Linked DNA regions of Homo sapiens: region 1 is linked to region 2. Evidence: promoter capture Hi-C in 16 types of primary human blood cells and fetal thymus (Javierre and others, 2016). All regions are on one chromosome and are shown on one strand. The core of a region is centred on a gene start or on the middle of the fragment in contact, and the rest is flanking DNA. Distances in the headings are between cores, read along the strand shown. Region 1 overlaps SLC6A19 (solute carrier family 6 member 19). Region 2 holds the start of LINC01511 (long intergenic non-protein coding RNA 1511).

What was found. The method cuts DNA at HindIII sites, captures the fragments that hold promoters and counts their contacts. A CHiCAGO score of 5 or more calls a contact.
Region 1: a fragment that was not itself captured here is called in contact with the fragment with the promoter of LINC01511 in region 2 in 1 of 17 cell types (non-activated CD4 T cells); the score reaches 5.9 in non-activated CD4 T cells.

What each region holds. Positions count from the first base shown.
Region 1 is chr5:1,202,632-1,206,123 of GRCh38, forward strand. The region is part of intron 1 of SLC6A19 (solute carrier family 6 member 19); the gene reads left to right. Among named protein-coding and RNA genes, the nearest start is that of SLC6A19, 2.8 kb to the left of the region's middle. RefSeq lists an enhancer at 1,432-1,995. The HindIII fragment of the contact is 1,375 bases long and covers 921-2,295 here.
Region 2 is chr5:1,378,748-1,382,505 of GRCh38, forward strand. It overlaps LINC01511 (long intergenic non-protein coding RNA 1511), which reads right to left and starts at 1,326. Exons shown (of 2, transcript NR_125810.1): 1 at 815-1,326. The HindIII fragment of the contact is 19,487 bases long and covers 1-3,235 here.

The DNA.
Region 1 (3,492 bases), core at 358-2,857, 180 kb before region 2:
TCCAGGAGGGCCGGGCACCCTTGGGAAACAGGCTTCCTGCTGCCCTGGGGCAGTTCACGGGGGGGCCGTGAAGGTCTCAGCCTCCGTTTAGAGGAGTCTGCCCTCAGGGGGCCCTGTTCCTTCTCACCATGGAGAGCTGCTGTCTCTCACGCGGGCTTTGTGATGTGAAGGTTTTTAAAGAAAAACAGAAATGGGCTTTTCCTGAATCAGTTTCGCCTCCAGCATTGTCAAGGAGTTGATCACTGCCTTGCGGGGGTGGGCGCTTCATGAGCCTCTGGTCCAGCCTGCACTTTCCACTGGAGGCAGGTCGGGGGACCTTGGCCACTCCGATACTATAGTCCCTGACAGTCCCCAAGTCTCAGCTCACCAAAGCCTCAGGGGACTTCCTGGCCACTGTCCTCGCCCCCTCCCCCAGGGCCCTATCCTGTGGGGAGGATCCCTGCGCTCACCCACACCCTGAGTTTGTTTAGCTTGGAGGAGAAACTGAGTCACAGGCTCACATCCCCACTGGGGATGGAGGGGCAGACACATGCCTCCTGGGAAGAGGAGGGGTTGGGACTGCCTGAGCCTGCCTGGGAAGTTATTTGTCTTTGCACAGAAGGGCAAGTTCTAAGATGCGGGCTTGGGCAGGAATCTGATGGGGCTCCCAGCACCTCAGATAGTCCCCGCTCTGACACCCAGAGACCAGCCGCTGTGCACGGTGGAGCCTGGGAGCGAGCAGCTTTCAAGCAGCGGGTGCTGGCGCTGCACCCTGGGCCATGCTGGGGTGGACAGGTGCGGGCAGCGGGCAGCGGGCAGCGGGTTCCGGGCAGGCAGGCCCAGGTGAGGAGGGCCGAGCAGGGCTCTGGGATGTGCTGGGTCTCAGATGGTCCCACTCCTGGGGTGGACACCAGCAGGCCCTTCTCCCCAGACCCCAGACAAGCTTCCCCTGACCTGGCCCTTCGGCTGGGCCACCAGGTCACCTGCTAGACTCTGAGGGCCACTGTCACCTGGGCCCCCATCAGCTGCGGCATCGCAGATGGCTCCACAGGGTTCTGGCAGTCGCCCCGGCCTGGAGGAACCCTGTGCCTTTTGGTCATGCTGTGGGGGCTGACCAGGACCCCACATACCAGACCACCAGCCTGAAAGAGCTGAAGCCCACACTGCAGCCAGAGGGACTCGGGCCAGAAGGGCAGGGCCCCGAGAATGGGAGACGGCTCTGCAGGCCACCGGGTTTCCCAGCAGGGCACCCGTCTCCTGGTGAATCCAATCTGGGCCGCAGCTCTGCCACAAGGGAGCTTTCAGGGAGGCAGCTGAAAGGACCCGGCGACACAGGGTCCCCTCCTATGGCTCCTGGGGGCCTCATGGGCACCAAAACAGTGGGGCAGGCTGCGTCCCTGGGAGGCCACACCCACAGACAGCGCACTCTCTCTCTGTGCATCTTAGTGAGGGCCCCAGCATGCATGCCTTGTCAGTGACACCAGATTTCCTAATTGATGCGGGTCATCGAGACCAAATCGAGGGGAAGCAGGCAGCCAGGTCCTCCTGGTTCCCTCTTGGAAGCCTCCTGAGTGTCTGGGATTGTCCTTCGAGGTTAAAAACCATTTACGCGTGCCTCCGAGTCTCCTGTGTCTTAACAGATTTTGCCCTCCTTGGAGAGCCTGTGCCAGGTGGGCAGGCTCAAGGGACACTTTCCTGAGGAAGGGCATTTCCAAACTCAGCCGCCCCACTCACCTGAGCCGTCTCAAGGGCGTGCTGCACCTGGGCATTCTCACCTGGGAAATGGGTGTGATGGCGGAGCCCCCCGAGGGTGGTGCTGGGGGCAGTGGGCAGGTGTGCAGGAACAGCAACCAAAAGCCGTGAGGCGTGGTCAGCCAGGGCTCACCCCACTCACCCCCACCTGGGAGCACCACATCCCCACGGCAGGGCCCCGCAGTGCCGGTGGCGCAGGCGGAGACGCATTCATGCCCACCTGTGTCCGTCCAGAAACCTCAGTTGCCCCGTGTGTCCCCGTCAGTGGCTGCTGATAGAGCCCACCCCACAGCTGGCCCCTCAGGGGCTGCCCCCCCAGCTCCTCTGCACAGGGCAGTGATGGTGTCCGTGAGCGAGGTGGCGTGCGGGAGCCGGAGGAGCCACCCCTTCCAGGACCATGTGGCGCCAGCACAGCTGTTTCCAGCTGTCTCTTCTTTGCTGCTCAACGCCTGGCCCCGGGGTCAGCTTTCCCCTTAGTCCATCTGCAGCTAATTCTTAGCAAAAATCCATGCAGCATTTACTTGGTGCCACAAACACCACCTGCTGGAGAGAGAAAAAAGGGGAAGCTTAGTCCCTGCGTGAGAACTGCAGCTCCCTCCTCCCCCTCTCTCCTGGTTTCCTACTTTTTCAAGGACAGACAGGAGGAACTGTTTCTGTGCCCAGTGTCTCTTTCCCTCTGGGTGCTTTCCATTTGGCCACGTCCCCACCCCATTCTCTCGGTTACCTGCTTCCACCTGAGTGAGCCAACATCTGCAGCGCCGCAGAGAGGCCTGGTTTCCAGGGACCTTTGCAACCACGTCCAGGCGCCCTGCAGGGCCCCACCAGGCAGAGCCACGCAGTGTTCCCTGGGCGCTGGCCGCCCCTTTCCTTCTCTCCTTCCTCTGCACCTCACCCCACACTAGGAAGAAGTCGCTGCGTTTAAAAGACAAATATTCATATTCTGGTGGCTTTAATTGTCAAGAATGCTTGGCTTTCCTTGAGTTTCTTGGGGCAGGACAGCCTCCTTCATTGGGAGCAACGGAGGGCCTGGCTGCCTCCGGGCTGCATTTGGGGTGGAGTGGGTGTGTGCCCCCCACCCCCAGTCCTCTCTGTTCACTGCTCCATGCTGAGCCTGAGCCCCAGGGGTTGGGGATTTGAGGGTCTCCTGCCCGGAGGAACCTTCAGAAAGGAGAGCCACCAGGAGCAAGGGCAACAACTGAGACTCTCAAAAGAGGGGACACCCTGGTGGGGTTTTCAAGGATGAGTAGGAGTTTTCTCAATGGAGATGAAGCGATAGGAAGACCCGAGCATTTAGGGTTAGGGCATAGTGGAGGGAAGGGAGAGGGTGGAGGACACTGGGGATCATGCACTTGCTTTTTCTTGGTAGTTTTGTCTGGAAGAGTTTCAAATCAAGCTCTTGGGAAAAAAAAATTGGAGGAGTGAATCTTTTCTTATTTTAACCTAATGAGCAGGCCCTGCTGGGGTCTTGGGTGTCCCTGCAGGTGAGCCTGCAGCCCCCACACCCTCCCATAGGGACCCGCTGGTGAGCATCTCCTGCACCTGGCTACCATTCCCTTCTGCCTTTCATCTCTCGATGAATCCAGCATCCCGCCAGCCCACCCTACACACCTGGCTCTGCTGCTGCCACCTGCAGCTCCTGCTTCTGAAGGAACCTGTCCCTGGAACCCCAGCTCAGAGAGAGGGGCCTGTGTGGGGATAGAGGTGCTGGGCTCCAGAGGGCCCTGCTCCACTCAACAGGCAGGCACCAAGTGGACACAGAGG
Region 2 (3,758 bases), core at 76-2,575:
GCTTCAAGCCCCCATCCCGGTTGATTTTAATCACTTATTTACTTTGGGGGGTGTGTGGTATATTTCTGTGGTCCTGGAAGGAACACAAAAGCTGCAGCCTCCATAATAAGGTAAGCCCACCAGCGCCTGTACCTTTGAGGACCATGAAGGGAAGGGTCTGTCTCCCTGTTCCCTCCACTAACTCCCCCCATCTCTCTGGCCCCCACTTCTCCGCAAAGTGGAAACTCCCTGGGGAGGCAGAAGACCAGGGTGGCAGGACTGCAGGCAGAGAGGGATTCCTGCCGCCCCATGGCTGGGTACCGCTGGTAGGCCACGCACACACTGGGTAAGTGTGCACTAGGCACTGACGTTAAGGGCCAGGCGTTGGTCCCTCCGTCTCACCTGCGCCAACTCAGCACAGGGAGAGAGCTGAGGCTCTGACAAGGATACAGGGCAGAGAGCAGGAAACAGCAGGGCTCAGGCTAGGGGTGGGAGCCCAGCTGCTCAGGAGTTGAAGTGCAGGCCCCCTGTGGGCACCTGGCGGACAGGAAAGGAAGGAGACTAAGGAGTGTGTTGTACTTTATCTGTACCTGGCTACGTGAGATCAGACTGTCACCCAGCATTAACTAAACCTTACAGTGGAGACAGTGGGTTGTATCACTCCCGAGAAGAAACCACAGAACGCTGTAGGAGTAATGCCTGCACCGGCTTCCCCCGCACCACACGGAGCGGCTGCCTACAGCTTTGTTAGGGGCTGAATGCAACCCCGATGCAGGCACCAGCCCTCCAGAGCAGCCTCCATGGAGGAATGCGGTTCCCCACTCTGCCCACATACCTCTCCTGCAGCAGCGCTGAACACCGTCTCCGGACGTCTGGAGCTATCACCATGGGCAACACTTTCGTGGTCTTTATTTTTAGCTTCTCCTTTAGAAACTCACTTTTTGGGGTGGTTTTGTGTCCAGAAGTTGGTGGGTTCTTAGTCTCGTCTTCAAGAATGAAGCCGCAGACCCTCGCGGTACATGTTACGGTTACCTAAAAACGGTGTGTCTGGAGTTTGTTCCTTCTGGTGCGTTCGTGGTCTACACTGATTTCAGGAGTGAAACTGCAAACCTCCGCGGTGAGTGTCACAGCTCCTAAAAATGCAGCACGTCCAGAGTTCTTTGCCCCTCCCAGTGGATTTACAGTCTCGCTGGCTTCGGGAGTGAAGCTGTAGACCTTTACCGTGAGCGTTGCAGCTCACAAACGCAGCACAGACACAAACACTGAGCAGCAGTAAGATTTACTACGAAAACCAAACAAGGAAAGCTCCCAGAGGACAAAAGCAGACCCTAACAGGTTGCCACCGCTGGCTCCCGCAGCCTGCTTTTATTCCCTTATCTGACCCCACCCACATCCTGCTGACTGGTCCATTTTACGGAGAACTGATTGGTCCATTTTACAGAGAGCTGATTGGTCCATTTTACAGAGAGCTGATTGGTCCATTTGGACAGGGTGCTCATTGGTGCATTTACAAACCTTTAGCTGGCTACAGAGTGCTGATTGGTGTGTTTACAATCCTTTAGGTAGACAGAAAAGTTCTCCAAGTCACCACCGGAGCCAGAAGCCCAGCCGGCCTCACCTCTCAGTAGCACTCCCTTTAGAACTTTGCAGCATCTACCCTGGGCACTCCGGCAGCCCAGAGGGAGCTCATCCCCAGATCAAGCCCAGCAGGCGTCGGCGGGCCAGCCAAGCCTGCACCCACCCGGAACCCGCGCCGCCCGCGAGCGCTGCGCTCAGCCCCCGCTCCCGCCCGCGCCTCTCCGCCAGCAGAGGGAGCTGGCTCCAGCCTCGGCCAGCCCCAGAGAGGGGCCCCACAGCGCAGCGGCAGGCCGAAGGGCTCCTCAAGCACGGCCAGAGCCGACACGGAGGCCCAGGAAGCGCCGAGAGCCAGCGAGGGCTGCTGGCACGTTGTCACCTTTCAGTTTCACAATATCCCAAGATGCATTAGTAGTTTCTGTAGCCTGAGTGTTAGTGGCCCCCAAAATTGATAGGTTGGAACCTAATACCCAATGTGATGGTGTTAACAGGTGGGACCTTTGGGAGGTGAGTAGATCACGAGGGCTGTGCTCTCACGAATGGCATGAGTGGCCCGGGTAGAAGAGGCTCCAGGGAGCTCCCTCGCTCTGTCCACCCTGAGCCTTGTCAAGAGGCGCCGTCTTGGAAGCAGAGGGCTGCCTCATGGGACGCCACATCCGCCAGCACCCTGGTCTTGGACTTGCAGCCTCCAGGACTGTGAGCAATAAATGTCTGTTGTTGACAAGTGGCTCAGGCTTAGGCGTGTTGTCACAGCAGCCCGAATGGACTCCAGCAGCAGAGCAGCCAGGGCTGCACGTGGTGCGTGAACACACCCGCCGCCCTCCTCCTCCTGGGGCATATGACGGCTGCGCAGCTCTGTGTATCCAGTTTCTGGGCTGTTCCATGCCCCTATTCCCCTGATTGCTATGTTCTCCAGCTGAAAGAGCACACTGATTTTGCCTTCAGCCCACTCTCATTTTCCCCCAGATTTCACTAAGTGATTTTGCTAAGTGATGGCTGTGCTTCCCCTGTGCGCTTCTCTCTGGCTGGTTTCTACTCCGGATCCACTAGTGGGGCCAGAAAGAGCAGTAGGAAGGAACCTGAGGTTCCTGTCCACCATCAGGCATGTGCACACCTACACCCACACACCCCTGCACTGTGCACACCCACACACACTTGCACACCCACCTGTGCACACGTACATCCATACACACATGCTCACCCCTACATGGACACCCACACACGTGCACGTGCCCATACACATGCACACCCATGCACACACCTGTCTGTGCACACCCCACACCCATGCATGCCGGCACACACCCATGCACATCCACACACAGGCACATACCCACACACACGTGCACACCTCACACCCATGCATACCTGCACACGCTTGCACACTCACCTGTGCACACACATCATACCTGCATGCACACCCCCACACGCACACCCACACACCTGTGCACACACCCATACACATGCATGCCCACACCCACATGTGCACACACCGTACATACCTGCACACACCCACGTATGCACATGGTCAACACTCACCCACTCAGGCACTCTTACATGCACACACGCACACAGACATGGCCACTTTCATGGACACACACCCACACACGCCCACATATACACGCATGCCCACCTAAACCACTCACTTGACCAAATAGCTTTTCAGGAGAGCGCCTGGTCCTGAAGCTTTCTAGGCATTTCGGTAGCCAAACCCTCTTGATCGTGTGGTTCCAGAAAAAGCCAGTGCGGCACCCACTTACCCGTACTGCAGCCACCGTGGTCCCGGGAAGAGGGCTTGCTTCCGCAGAGCTAATGAGGGAAGCGGTCTCTGAGAGTAGAAGGGAGGCCTCGGAGGGAGGTGGTCTCCAAGAGTAGCCGGGAGGCCTGGGAGGATGGTGGTCTCCGAGAGTAGCAGGGAGGCCTGGGAGGGTGGTGGTCTCCGACAGTAGCAGGGAGGCCTGGGAGGGTGGTGGTCTCCGACAGTAGCAGGGAGGCCTGGGAGGGTGGTGGTCTCCGACAGTAGCAGGGAGGCCTCAGAGGGAGGTGGCAGAGCAGGCTCTGCTCTCAGGAAGTGCCCCGTGGGTGGCGACGGGCCGAGAGGTGCTCTGGGGGACGAGTTATGGCTCTGAGCTGCCCGTGCAAGGCAGGGAGGCTGCGTTTTCATGCGTTCACACCTCAGTCCCTGGGTAAGGACCTCCCAGGATGTA